Regions from separate parts of the Homo sapiens genome. Here region 2 is linked to region 1. Evidence: promoter capture Hi-C in 16 types of primary human blood cells and fetal thymus (Javierre and others, 2016). All regions are on one chromosome and are shown on one strand. The core of a region is centred on a gene start or on the middle of the fragment in contact, and the rest is flanking DNA. Distances in the headings are between cores, read along the strand shown. Region 1 holds the start of RHOG (ras homolog family member G). Region 2 overlaps ZNF195 (zinc finger protein 195).

Region 1 (7,457 bases), core at 2,914-5,413:
GGGAGGCTGACACAGGAGAATGGCTTGAACCCGGGAGGTGGAGGTTGTGGTGAGCTGAGATCGCGCCATTGCACTCCAGCCTGGGTGACAGAGCAAGACTCCATCTCAAAAAAAAAAAAAAAAAAAAAAAAAAAAAGCTGAGCCTCAGGACCAGGACAGCTCTGGCTGGGGGAGCCAAGGAAGCTGCCCCCTCCCCCACGCAGCACAGAGGAAGGGTGCACACTGGCTTCCTCCTCCCCGCCTAGCAGCAGCTCAGCAGTCCCTGGGCCCCACCAAAGGCCTGTGAAGTGGCACTTCCTTTGCCTTTGCTAATTTCACATGAGGCTGTACAGAAGTGCCATCCTGCAAATCCTGGCACCCCCACCTGAAAATACCCACAGAGAGACCCAGGGCTGCCCAGTCCCTTTAGCCCCGCCCGAGGCCTGAGGGGGTTTCCACAAGGGAAAATAACACCAGGGAGGAAACTCCGGCATCTATTTTCCACTGTCAGTGAGGCAGAGCTGGAGTAGGAGACAGGGTACTCCCCCATCTTACTACCCCCTGGCAAAATCCCCAACATTCTCTGCCTTCTTATCTCTCAAGCTCTAACAGTCCTTGTGCTTGGGGAAAGGGCAGTACTATCCCTGGACAGATATGTATGTACAGACTACTCGGACCTGTCAAATTGAGGCTGGTAAGACACAAGGGCCCAGAGTGAGGGGCACTGCTATGAGCAGTCTCTTGGGGGAGGAAGAGTCAGAGCCATGATGTTCACTGTTGCCTTTGGAGGTACTGATATGCAACTCCTTAATGCTAAAATAGAGCCAAGAGAAACCAAGTTGACCAGGTAGCAAATCTACGACAAGGATCCGGATCTTCTAGCCTCCACCCTTATGCTACTTCTACAAAGGAGAGAAGGTGAGGATTCTAACTCTGGCCTGAGAATGGGCCATCTCTTTAACCTCATTCAGGAGAACGCTACCATGGTTTATTCCTTCAGAAAATGGGCCAAAGGGTGGGTTGACTTACATCTGAGCCTTTTTGCTTCCAAGTTCCCAGGCTCTCATGCCTAGCCCATCCTGGTGCATTCATGATTTAGCACTGACATTACTCAATAGCCAGCCACTCTGGCCCTGCCCTAGCTGAGAAGCTCCTCCTCTGGCCTCTAGCTCCTGGAGAGATGCCCTCCCCCCATATGAGATGAGGACAAAAGAGGAAGCTGGACCCTGGACAGGAAAACCAGTCTGATCTGGGGAGGTGGCCCAGGCTTTGTCTTTGGTTTCCCTCCTCAGCTCTTGTCACGGACCCCTACTGACCTCACCACTAATGGGTCTACAGTATATAGAAGGAGTCTTCAGTGTGGGCCTGAGCCCCCTTCTTCATGTCACAACCTTGACCATACCTGTTTAGCCAAGACTTCAGCGGCAGCCTCCTAGGTTGTAGCCACCACCTCCCTTTACCCCCCAATATTTTCCCATTAAAATCTCTCCCGCCCTGGTCACATTTTTTCCAATGATGCCTTTTTTGCAATTAGCTCAAACTTCCAATGGGGCCAGATCTCACCTGGGAGAATCCCTGTCTCACCCATCTTGTCTTTACCATCAGAGCCCTGTGGGTTTGCTCAGTTACGCAGAATACTAAAGTAACTACTGGTTTGCCAGCCTAGGAACTGGGACTCCTGGGGTTTTTATTAAGCTGTGATGCTGGGAAAGTGCCTTGTATGCACATCCTTCTCTAACCTGGGCTCTTATGTAGGTCCCTGGGATTTCTTCCCGGACCCAAACTTCTGTACCTCCAAGAAATGGGAAGAGAGACAAGTGGTTGGAAGGGCAGGACTGGAAGAAGAACAATTCATGGGAGAGGGACGACTGTGACATGGGAAGATGACAGAATGGGGAACAGGGAGAGCCCTTAAATTTAGCTGTAGCACTTACTCCCCTCTACTTCTCTTTTTTTCTAGTGGAGAGAAATGAATACAGATGACTAGAGGAGGTAGACAGGAGCAAGATCCTCAGATGCACCCCAAAAGCTTGAGGATGGAGCTCTAGAGTGGAAACAAGAGCCTCCATAGCCAGGATGGACTGAAGTTAAATTTGGGAGGAATTCCTGAGAAGGAATAGGGTCCTAGGTGAGATGGGGAGTATTAAGGATGCCTGAAGGCAGAGGGGTCAGTAGAACTCCAGAGGGCTTCCTGGTCACTAAGGCCCTGATGCAGATCAGGGCATGCGGGTACCCAGCCTAGGCAGGCCCCAGAAGGTAGCAGGAAAGGAGCAGACACTTTTGCCTCCGCCGCTTCTTAAGTCCGAAGTTAGACCAGCTGCAGTCTTTCCTCCAGAATCCTGCATTTGCCTCCTCCCTTTATTTCCATCACACCCAAGCTGGTCCCATTCTTTCCACCAGGTGATGCTGGAACTAGTAGGTAATGGAGTCAGGGACCTTCAGGCTGTCTTCCGGCTTCTAGGCCTGGCCTCTTGGTCAAGCACCACGGGTTGGGGTGATTTTGATTTCCCACGGCCTCTCTTACAAGTCTTATTCCTGTGTCACCCTACCCTGACTGCTACAAACGGCTTCCTCCTGCCTAACCACAACCTCACTCACTGCAGGTTCCCTTCATTCTGCTGGCTTCCCTTGCTCTGGGCCCTCTCAAGGCTGAGGGCAGTTATTTTGTCTGTAAGAGATAAAGATGTAGTCACACAGACACGCGCGCGCGAACACACACACACACACACACACACACACACACACACACAGGCTTTCCATCTCTTTAATCCATCTCTAAGAGATGAAGATGTAGATACACAGACACGCGCGTGCGAACACACACGCAAACACACACACACACACACACACACACAGGCTTTCCAGCTCTTTAATCCGTCTCTATCACTGGGAGGCTGCAGACTGCCTCTCCAAGCTAGGGAGGTTTGAAAAGACTCTAGAACTCACTAAGTCTTCAACAACTGATTCCAAAGCTGGAGATAAGTGGGTGGGAGGGAAGGATACAGAGAGGGTGACAGGCTGAGGGTTCAAAAGGAATGAGGGGTGATGGAAGAAACCAGGAGGTGCATGTGTGTGGGTGCCAGAGCTGGGAAGGGAAGGGATGGGGCAGGTTGCAGAGGACCAAGACGAACATGGGGCAGGGTAGGTGAAGACAGGTCAAGGCCTAGGTATGACCGTATGTTTGGAGGAAAAGAGACTGGAAGGGATGAGAAGAGAGTGATGGCGGATTTGTGGGTAGAAACTAAAGAAGGTGTGGAGGGAGACGACAGGAGCATGTGTATAATTCAGGGACTAAGAATGAAGAGGAACACTAGGAGATGGTTCTCAATTGTCCCCAAAAGACACAACAAAAACTTGTCAGGGACTATCAGTACCTCTGAATGAGAGTCCTTCCACTTCCAGTTACAGGGCAAGACCAAGTTACTCCCAAAAGAGCAAGGCCAGGCTCTGGTCAGCTAGGAACAGCGTCTGCTCACTAAATACCTACTGCTTGGCTCCAGGTAAGGTCGGGACTCAGGAAAACAGACATACAGACAACGACTGGGGTCGGCGGGGCTCCCCCACCCAACCCGGGTCCTCCTGAGTGCAGAGGGCCTTGGGGCTGCAGACCGAGTGTGGGTCTGTATTAGCATCCATCTGACAGGGAGAGAGCTTTCGGAGGCCCCAGACACCGCCCCTCTCACCCCAAGTGTCACAACTGCCAGAGCAGAGGGAGCGCCTTTTCCAGCCCAGAAGCCCTCTCCCCTCACGCACTTCTCAACACCCCCCCCACCAACTTCTGAGGACACCCCACCTGCGTCCGATCTCCCAGCTCTGAGCTCTTCCACTTCAGAGACACTTATCTTGGAGCCCGGGACCCTCCGACCTCAGGGGTCCCTCTCGGCTCCCTAGAGGCGGTACAGCCGCCGGGAAGCCACCCTCGCCGAGCCTCCGCCGGCTCGCAGTGGCCCCGTTCCCGCCCCGCCCGGCCGGCCGCGCCCGCCCTACTTGGACTGAACCGAGAAGCTCCCGCCCGCGGCCTCCGCCAGCAAACTCATGAGCCGGCGCCCGCGCCGAGTCCTGGGCCGGCCGGGCTCTCCTCCCCCGGACCCCTACCCGCCAGCCCCGGCCGGGCCTCACCTGGTGCCCTCCCCGAGGCGGGGGAGCTGGGGGCGGCGGCAGCGGCTCCGGGCTCGAGAAGGAAGTGAGAGCGGGAGGCCGGAGGAAGTGGGGGGGGCGGGCCGGCGAGGCGGGGCGGGCCGGGGCGGGGCCCGACCAGGAAGTCCGAGGGCCGATCTCCCCCTCTCCAGCCCCGGCCCGCCCCCAGCCTCGCCCCCGGCCCAGTCCCGGGCTTGCCACGTTCCCCTCCCAGTCCGCTGCCCCTGCGGTCAGTAAGTCAGGCCTCCCAAGGTCAAGTCTCTCCGCCTCCTCCTGGCCACCCTACCCCTGGAGGCCCTACCCTGGGCGCTAGGCGTTCGTCCTCTTCCCCCCATCCCGCCCCCACCAGCCTCCGCGGGAAGATGCTGAGAAAGGCGCCCCTGGGCCTGGTCCCTTCAGTCAACCCCAGGGATAGAGTGGTGGCCGAGGCTGGGGCAGTCCCCGCCCCTGCCCTGAGCCCCGGGGGAGTGCGAGGTGGTGGTGATTCAGCAGTGGGAAGGCCCCAGACCCCTGGGGAGGGTGGGGAGACTCGGGGGGAAGAGGAGCTGGCGTCAGCACCCAAGGGAAAGACAAGATCAGCAGAGGCGCAGGCGGAGCCGCGGGCCCCAAAAACAGGATGTCGAGTCGTCATTCAGCACCGTGCAGCCCTGCGAGGCCTGGCTCTGGGGAGGGGGCGGGGCGGACGGAGGACTTGGGGCTTCCCTCGCCCCCTCGCCCCCTGTTCTGCTGGGGCGCGCAGCTGCTTGGGGCTGAAGAGCCGCACCCAGGCCTGAGGTCCAGCTTGGGCCCCGGCGACCCGCGGGTGGGCGGGCTCATGGGCGCCCTCTGGTGCTTCGCTCCCTGGCTTTGCGCTCGGAGCTTTGACTTGAGAATCCATATCCTTCGTTCAGCACAAAGTTTCTGAGCGCCTACCACGTGGAGAGAGCTAAGTGCTAGGTGCTGTGAAGAAACACAGCGTTTAAGACAGGATCCCTGTCTTCCAGAAGCTTTTCAAATAAACGGATTGATTCCAGGAATAAATAGCTTAACCTTTCTGAGCCTCAAATCTGTCTTTGGTAAAATAGAATAATTATATTTCACCCCGTAGTTTTGAAGATAACATGAGAATGGGTGTAAAAGACCTGTTGTCAATGCGTATCTCAAACACTAAACAAATATCTTTTAAAAATATCATACCCTAAGAGTCTGGCGCGGTGGCGTCTGCCTGTAATTACAGAGATGGTGAAACCTTGTCTCTATAAACACAAACACACACATATTTTTTGACAGTCTCACGATGTCACCCAGGCTGGGGTGCAGTGGCACGATCTCGGCTCACTGCAATCTCTGCCTCCCAGGTTCATGCAGTTATCCTGCCTCAGTCTCTCGAGTAGCTGGGGTTACAGGTGCATGTCACCACACCCGGCTAATTTTCGTATTTCTAGTAGGGACGGGGTTTCACCCTGTTGGCCACGCTGGTCTCGAACTACTGATCTCAGTTGATCCACCTGCCTTGGCCTCCCAAAGTGCTGAGATTACAGGCGTCAGCCACCACACCCAGCCTACTTATATTTTTAAAAAAATAAATAGGAACCACGTAAGTAATTTAAAACTGTCTATTAATGACATTTCAAAAAAAGTAAAAAGAAACGAAATGAATTTTAACTATATTTGACTTAGCCATAGCCAAAGTATTATCTTTTTTTTTTTTTTTTTTTTTTTTTTGGAGATGGAGTCTCGCTCTGTCACCAGGCTGGACTGCAGTGGCGCGGTCTCTGCTCACTGCAACCTCCGCCTCCTGGGTTCAAATGATTCTCCTGCCTCAGTCTCCCAAGTAGCTGGGATTACAGGCACGTGCCACCATGCCTGGCTTATATTTGTATTTTTAATGGAGATAGGATTTCACCATGTTGGCCAGGCTGGTCTTGAACTCCTCACCTCGTGATCTGCCCGCCTCAACCTCCCAAAGTGCTGGGATTACAGGCATGAGCCACTGCGCCCGGCCTCAAAATATTATCTTTTAGCATGGTAATCAACATAAAAATTACTGGTTATAAAAATTAACTGGATATTTTGCATTCTTTTCTTGTACCAAGTCTTTGAAATGCGGTGTGTATTTTATACTTACAATTTGTCTCAATTTGGCTGGAAACATTTCAAGTGGTCAATAGCATGTGTAGCTGGTGGCTACTGTATCATCCTCAAAAACAGAGGCTTTATCAGATTCAGGCTGGTGAATGACTGTGTGGATGAAGTCTTTCTCAAAGATCCTTCTCTAGAAGCCTCCCCTGACCTGCCAGGCAGTGTTTGGGTCTCTTGTCTCCTCTTCGGTCTGGTCCCTGTAGCCCTTCAGACAAACTCCTCTTTGTGGAGGACATGAGAGCAGGAGGCACAAGGGGAAATTCTCATTCCCATCCATACACCATTGGGACCACTTGACATTGGGGTGCTTGGTATTTCATGAATAAAGAAAGGATTGTGAGCCCCAGAAATGACAGGGTTCAGAGGAACACCATACGCTAAAGCAGCTTCTATGACGCCATTAAAGATTATGTCCCAGCACAAAAGTTTTTTCTGGTTTGTTTGTTGTTTTTTTTTAGATGGGACTCTCACTATGTTGCCTAGGCTGTCCTGGAACTCCTGGGCTCGAGTCATCCTCCCACCTCAGCCTTTCAAGTAGCTAGGACTACAGGCACACACCACCACATCCAGCTCCAGAAGAAATGTTTCTGATATGTGTTCCTAGAATTCCCTTCCCAGGACTTAAGAACAGGAAAAACAGTGGAGCTATGGACTCTCTCCCCTTCAACCAGAGAAGGTTTGCTTTTTATCTGATTTATTTACTAGTATTCTGCATAGAGAGTTTAATTTTGTTTTTAAGTTTCCTGCAAAAAATATTTGAAAATCAATTTAAGGACATAGTGATAAGAGTAGGGAGCACATTAGGTGCTGCAGATTGAAAGACTGGATTGGCAGCCTGGGATCAGATTGCATTTCCTGAGCCTGTAAGTGTCTTGGGCTTGCCTAGCCCTGGTTTAGGAGGGAGAACCTGATCCAGCCTCAAAGATCTCATGGTCTGATGAAGTATAGGACTTTGCATATGAAGCTATCAGAAGAGGAGGAAAAAGTCCAAGGCTGGGCTTTAGAAAACCTTCAAGTCTGGCCTGGCACAATGGCTCACGCCTGTAATCTTAGCACTTTGGGAGGCTGAGGCAGGCGGATCATGGGGTCAGAAGATCGAGACTATCCTGGCCAACATGGTGAAACCCCGTCTCTACTAAAAATACAAAAATTAGCTGGGTGTGATGGTGCATGGCTGTAACCCCAGCTACTCGGGAGGCTGAGGCAGGAGAATCACTTGA
Region 2 (7,457 bases), core at 3,512-6,011, 470 kb before region 1:
CTTCTGGGATTTCTGAACCAATCACCATCACCACGCCTCTCGCACACTTCAGACATGATGCAAAGGAAATCAAAAAACATTTAACAGAGTTCCTCAAAAACAGGCAGGTACAGGCATGTTCCCAAAAGCAGTGGCGGAGCACGCCATGAGACCACACAGGCCCTTACTCGTCAGGAGGAGGACTCTGATTTTTACTGTAACCTTTATAAAGGAAGATCACTAAACAGGAAGCAGAGTCTATACAAAATTTGAGAGAATGAGACAGAAGACGCTCCTAGGGTACAGCAAGAGAAAGACACCCAGGCTCTCAGAAACCATCTCCACTAGGGCAGAGCTTCTCAAACCACATTTTAAGGTCTGGCTTCCTCCTCGACCTCTGGACCTCTCACCTGGGTTACCTGCTTCGTTCATTCCCACCCACCTGGATGTCCGTCTGCTGCCTCCTGTCTCTTCACATTCCAGGGCTCTTTTCGTTGCTCCAGGCAGGTGATCAGGCCTGGCTTACAGACAGTGAGACCTGTTTTATTAGAAAAAAGTGACATTACTCTTGCTGAAATTCTCCAATTATCAACCTTGTACTGTGCTTAGTAGAGTGAACATTATATAAGATTCTAGAAAATTAATCCCAAAATTATGCTTCCTGACATCACCTTTAGAATATTCAGTAAGTATTTTAAATCTGTGGGTTCTTAGTTTCACCACTCAGTACTGCTGACATAAAAAATTGGTGGTGGAAATTTGACTTTAAGTTGTGGGCAACAATATTTCATGCCACTGAATTTCTGGAATTGTCACTAGAGTGAAAGATACAGATCAGCTGAAAAAAAAGGAAGGTTTATGTCAAGATGAACCACATTTTGAAGATTTTTTTTTTTTTTACATCAACTATTCCCCATGTTTTTCTTAAAAGCAGGGATCTGAAACTCATTCATGCAACGCAGAAACTCCCAAAAAACATTCCGCAGAGGAACGAAAGGAACTCTTTAGGGCATAGGAGGAACTACGTATTGAAGTTATCCTCACCAACGGAGAACAAGTTTCTGTAGTTCTCCAACATCACATCCCTGTACAAATTCTGCTGAGCGAGGTCCAGGCATTTCCACTCCTCCAGGGAGAATTCTATGGCCACATCCCTGAACGTCAACAGAGTCTGAAGAAGAAACAACAACAATAACAAATACTTGATTCGAGGTGAAATGAGCGAGTGAAGAGAACTGGTTCTGACTTACACAAGTGACTGAAATTATACAATAAGGTAATTCTTAGCAGAAGAATACTCTCTAACTCTGAGGAAAGAGAATTGCCTGAGAGCCACATAAGCAGTGTATATACAATACTTTTCTGGTTGATAACAAGTATAACATTAAGGGCATCAACAAAGGCATGTCCATTTTTGAGTGCTACATTTACGTCACATGAATAAGCTGTGTATATTTCGCAGGCAGAAAAGTCATGGTGAGTTAGAAGCTGCCTCTCCAATTTTCATGTGTCCAATAAACTAGTGTGCAGATTTTGCTTCAGGAAATCGGAGGTCAAGGCTGAGTTTCCGAATTTCTAACGCGCTCACCAGTGATGCCAGTCCTTTGGGCCCAAGGACAATATTTTGTCAAAAATCCTGTAAGTGGCAAGCTTGGGTTTATCCCAGTTTTTCTAAACCATAAAGAGAGATGAGATTCTTCATCTTCTAAAGCAAGGCATATGCAAAAAGAATCTAAGAAGCAAAACCTTTCAGATTAAATGTGATTATTTATGCACATTAATTAGTAAATCTCCTCAAGGTACTTAAAAGAGAAAAAAATAAACTCCACAATGGAAAATCTGTCAGGGAGCTCTTTAAACAACTGAATAAAACTAATATCAACTGTAATAGGACAGATTTTTATCACGTGCCAATGCACAGAGAAGGACATATTACTGGTGTGATATTGGCCAAAAGGTCAATTATAATCTGAATCAAATCATACCGAAACCTTAGTGTTATGCAAAGTTCAAGAGACAAATAAATATCTCCCAGGTTCTGACAAATATCTCCCAGGTTCTGACAAATATTTCCCAGGTCCTGACAAATATCTCCCAGGTTCTGACAAATAAATATCTCCCAGGTTCTGACAAATAAATATCTCCTATGTTCTGACAAATATCTCCCAGGTTCTGACAAATATCTCCCAGGTTCTGTAATCTGTTTTCTTTTGTCTTGAGACTGAGTCTCACTCTGTAGCCCAGGCTGGAGTGCAGTGGCGCGATCTCGGCTCACTGCTACCTCTGCCTCCCTGGTTCAGGCAATTCTCGTCCCTCAGCCTCCGGAGTAGATGGAACTACCCACATGTGCCACCACGCTTGGATAATTTTTGTATTTTTTTAGTAGAGATGGGGTTTCACCATGTTGGTCAGGCTGGTCTCGAACTCCTGGCCCCAAGCGATCTGCCCACCTAGGCCTCCCAAAGTGTTGGGATTATAGGCATGAGCCACCATGCCCAGCAGTAATCTCTAATAGTGTATTAAAAGAGTCTTTCTTTAGCATTCTAAAAAGCAAGTGTCTTTTCATTTTTCTCTTTTCCAGAATGCTTTGAGTTATTCTGAGAGATAAATGTCATCTGGTTTAAATGTTTATTTTCTTAGTCCTGTTCTGCATGCAGCTTATGGAGCATCCAGATGAAACCTAAAGAGTGCACATTTCCCTTCTTTGCTGATATCCAAAAACCCACCCCATCCTCAAGAGGAATCCTGGGTATCCACAAGTTCAGTGCCACGAAGTGAACTTTTTAATACTGCAGGTCATAAAGTCATGGTAAGAATTCTTCATGGCATATAAGAAGTCAAGGTGAAGATAACAGAGAGACGGCTTTGGTATATAGAAAACAAATATTTTCAGAGACCCTTCATTATTATAAGAAAAAAAAGTAGTTGAAACAAACTTACTATGGAGAAACACCACAAGTAGAGAAGTAAAGGTTTCCAAATTCTAAACACATGACATTTCAGGAGCAAAAGTGGACACAACCCCTGACCTGAGATGCATTTACCTGAGCACCAGCCATTTCTTTCTCTTTCTCCTGCTTCTCTGGGATTTCCTCTTAGGAAAGATTCTCTGGACAAATCACACCTGCATCGTGAGAATATGCCTTTAAAGGTGTTAGCACAACCCCTTCACCTGCTACCACCACAACCATCAACAGAAAGACCAAGAAATACAGAAAAAGTCCACGCTTTTCTGTTCTTTATAAAAGAGATTCAGGAACAGTAAACTTCTACATGGAGATCAAAATGTGACTTTCTCTCTTCCTGCTCTCAGGTTCCCTCTCCTGCTAAACAACAGCAATTCTGCTTCAGCAATTGGAGTATAAGCTGCACTGAGCTGGCCTCTGAAACCTAGGCAAAGAAGGCCCTGTGACCTCCCTTTGGAACCAAGGCTGAGCTCAACTCGTACAAATGCATCTGAAACCCCCCATCACTGATTCTGGCCACACCTTAGAATCCCATGATGCATGTGACTTAAACAGCACTGGTGCTTCCACCCAAACCAATAGGCAGAATCTGTGAGGGCAAAGGTGAGGGCCTTTTTTTGAGTTGTCCATGTGATTTAATTAGAAGCCAGGCTGAGAACCATTTAGCTAAGCCTTGCTTCTCAAGCTTCAATGTGCATATGAATCTTTTGGTAATTTTGGCCCCACTCTAAGTCATGTGATTCTGAAGATTTCAAAGGGGTTCATGGGTTGGATTTTTTAACAGTTCTGCCATTAATGGTGATGCTGCTCCCCCAAGACTTGTGATCATTAACACTCAGCTAAAGAAAGCAGCCCCAGCACAGTCCCTTACACCCAACCCTCTGACCACAACATAAGTTCTTCTGGTGCAAATGGAGACAGCCAATCTCTATTCTGAAAGATTACATTATTTCCTGGCTCTTTAAAGTTTTCCAGGGCTGGAGAAGGAAGCAATGTCTGAGTCTGTCTGCATTTGGAAAACAATGTGTACACACGTATGAATGCAGTGTTTATTAAGCAGGCACGGGGTGCTCGGATGTATGTGACAGCACTGTGCTGGGCACCTCACGTCATGTGAGTTAATCCTCACCACACCCTGGGTGATGGAACCAAGTGTCCTGCAACTCTCAAGATATAGATGAAGGGACCAGGCTTTGTGGTTCCTCTTCTATTTTCCTATCATTAACGTTTTAAAAGTGTAGTGATAAAAGCTCCAGATAGACCAATGGAAGGGATACAGAGGGGATGAAGTGTAGTGCAAAGGCACTTTCCATTGTTGTGTTTATCTTCACTTTCTTGTGGCTTGTGAAGCAACTATTAGACCCACAGGACTGAGAAAGAGCTTGCTGGATACGATGTCTCTAACAGCGCTGGTGTTAGTAAAAAAGAAAAATTAAGGCTCCAAAATAGAGAGTCCTTTGATCCCATTTATCTGCTTTGGGGTTTCCGAAAATTCTGTGTATCAGTTCCGGAGAGGCAGCAGGAGTCAAACTCTGATTTAACTCTGTAGTTAAACTCCAAACTGATTTAACTCTGTAGCTAAACCCAAAACTCTGATTTAATTCTGTAGTTAACTCTGTCGGAGGAGAGTCCAGGGTGAAGCCAGACCTGGATGAGACTCAGAGAAGGAGAGTCTGGGCATGTCTGGGCAGGGAGAGGGCCCTACGCAGGATTCTGCTCTCTATGCTACTAGAGTATTTACAATTCTGTTTTTCCTAAAACTGCCCCCCACCCCAAAATTTAAATCCCAGGGTTTGTATAATTTTAATCTATTTTGGCCACTTCCTTGTCTATTTTATAACATAAAATAACAAGCAATTTAACCGAAACCTTTAGGATTTTCTAGGACAGATATGGTAGAAGCTAAATATTTATTTTTAGCCGGGCAAAAGCAACAGAAATAATACCACCACCACCTTGTCTGTCTGAATATCCCTTCAATATGACATCAGAACTCACAACAACCACATCAGGAAAATGGCCCAAATGAAGCAGAAGTCCCTTTGACCACTCCCTTCTTCATGCTGACCCCAAGACGCTGAATTCAATGATTTATCCAGTTACTGGAAATGGAAAAGTTTCTGGCTTGCGGGGACCATGGCTGCCTTCTCTGTTTTCCTAATGGCTACACAGGATGGAATCAATTAGTTTATCAGTTTGAATCTCCAGATCTCATTTTTGTTTTTTACTGAAGTACCAGAAAAACTGGAGTAATTCCCATGTGGATACCAATGAGGTTTCTTCTCTGAGGGGAGGAACAAACCCTGGGTGACTCATTTCTCTTATTCTACAACAGAAGCACAGATAGACCGTTTTGTCAGCCTGAGCCCCGTCTGCACAGTGCACTCCTGAATGTCCAAAAGACTCCAGGTGCTGGTGAGAGAGTTCCTGGTGACCCTGCACAGATGCCCTCTATGGCCATGAGATCCATGATAGTTGCTACCTTCTCCCTGTTGCAATCCTCCTTTAGAGTTCAATAACTTCCTATCTAAAGCTAAATTTATTTTATTTGACGAAGTCTAGAAACAGCCCCAGGATAATAACGATTCCATACCCAGGAAGTCCTCCCCAGCTTCCTTCCATCCCAACTCTAACTGCATCTGCCTGTGGGTCCCCAGTGCTCCCGGGCTCTGCAGCTTCTCTCTGTAGAAAGGCTCCTTCCATGGTTGCTGTGAGCAGTCTGGCGCACCCGCAGGGGAGGCTCCTTGGGAAGCACTAGCTAGGCCAGGGGTGTCCGATCTTGGCTTCCCTGGGCCACACATAAAATACACTAACACTAACGATAGCTGATAACTGAAAAAAAAAAAAAATCACAAAAAAGTCTCATAATGTTTTAATAAAGTTTACGAATTTGTGTTGGACCACATTCAAAGCCCAGGCCAGCATGTGGCCCAGGCCTGTGGGTTGGACAAGCTTGAGCCAGGCCTTCGATTGCTTTCTTTTGCAGACTCAGTATTAGCCTTAGCTTGGAATGACTGTTCTTGGGCTTCAACTTCCCAATCAGGGTTATCCACTTAGGTTTAAATAAGAAAATACCCAGTGTTGGAAACATCCAACAAAATCACTGAAACAGTTTACAGAAGAAAAGGAAACTGTAAGCACTTACACTTTCACCTCCACAGAAAAAGCAAAATTATTTATTGCTTTCAGACAATGAACTTGTCATTTAACTATTTCCATAACAAATCATATAGTAAACAATCACATGTGAACACTTTTAGAAGTGCTAAGTTCCATCTCCTACAACTTAGCATTAAGCTCAGACATCTAGAGAACAGGATATAAAACAGAGATACTCATGACAACAAATTCATCCTGCAAAAAGAGCTCATGTTCTGATGAATCTATGCAATTTACCAAGTAATCTACCATAATTTTTTTGTAGAAAATGTAAACATTCTCCACAGCCATCCAAGAAGCATTTTATGTTCCCTGGTAGCATTCCCAAAGCTAAGCCCTGGGATTCTGTTGGAAATCATCTTCCACAAAAGAACAGACCTAAGTAACTTTCTACCCTTAATCACTCTGGAGAAGAAAAAGGTATGTATGACTAGATATTTAACTTTTTTCCTGAAATTGACCTATTTCATGTCCTTTGTAAGTATTTTCTTACCTTTCAAGCTCTACTGATAAAATGTAAATTTACAATTAAAAATCCAACATTGCAGTAAGTGAATAAATTATTTCAAGGAGACACAGAGAGTGGCAGTGCCGACTGGAACACAGACACAGCTAATGACTTGTGTCAAGTCAGGCTATTCTATTCCTTGGGAGATTCTCCCACCTCCATCCTGTTCACCGAAGTGCTCACCGGCCACCCCCGATGATACACTGCACTGTGCCCCGCTGAGTGTCCCAGGTGAATTTTGCTTTACAGGTTTTGCACCATCTCACGGGGTGGAGTTTTTCTTGCTCTTTGAAACATTCTGTCTCCCTTCACAAATCTGAGAGTCCAAAGGGCAGAAATGATTTCGGTCTTTTCCCTCTGACAGGGGCATGTGATTGGCTGATCAGCCATGTGTCTCCAGGGATTGAAAGTTGGGTTGGGTGAAGACAATCTTAATGTCCTAAGTGGTTACCTCTTTAGAGGAAGAGTAGACCAGGAGATTTCTCTCAGCCCAGGGCATCCAGCTGCTCCCTGGAGAGGCCACACTTCATACCTCAGGCTGTCCTCTGAGAAATAACCCAGGGCCTGAAATTCACTAGATGCTCCAGCAGACATGGCCATGGTGGGCATCCTGTGTTATCCCTGGACAATACTGAAACTGAGGAAAAAGTCCAGAGGGTGGCTGAGAGCAAATCACCCTGTCAAGTTTCCAAAGTGGAACCTCAAACCAAAGACATTCTGGTAAGGTGTCTGTGCCTAGGGAAAATAAAAAGGAGGAGAGGCACAAAGACTTTTTACAATAGCGTCAGGGGATGATTCTCTGCTTTCCTGTCACGTGGAATGATTACAAACAGAAAACAAATCTC

Evidence for each region. The method cuts DNA at HindIII sites, captures the fragments that hold promoters and counts their contacts. A CHiCAGO score of 5 or more calls a contact.
Region 2: a fragment that was not itself captured here is called in contact with the fragment with the promoter of RHOG in region 1 in 1 of 17 cell types (fetal thymus); the score reaches 5.4 in fetal thymus.

Annotation. Positions count from the first base shown.
Region 1 is chr11:3,836,796-3,844,252 of GRCh38, forward strand. It overlaps RHOG (ras homolog family member G), which reads right to left and starts at 4,164. Exons shown (of 2, transcript NM_001665.4): 1 at 4,099-4,164. It overlaps LOC124902619 (a long non-coding RNA gene), which reads left to right and starts at 482. Exons shown (of 2, transcript XR_007062560.1): 1 at 482-897; 2 at 1,272-1,480. RefSeq lists an enhancer at 2,305-2,504 and silencers at 3,905-4,294, 4,345-4,394, 4,745-5,014, 5,055-5,104. The HindIII fragment of the contact is 3,094 bases long and covers 2,007-5,100 here.
Region 2 is chr11:3,370,554-3,378,010 of GRCh38, forward strand. It overlaps ZNF195 (zinc finger protein 195), which reads right to left. Exons shown (of 6, transcript NM_001130520.3): 2 at 1,024-1,150; 3 at 422-517. Among named protein-coding and RNA genes, the nearest start is that of ZNF195, 4.9 kb to the right of the region's middle. The HindIII fragment of the contact is 2,267 bases long and covers 3,629-5,895 here.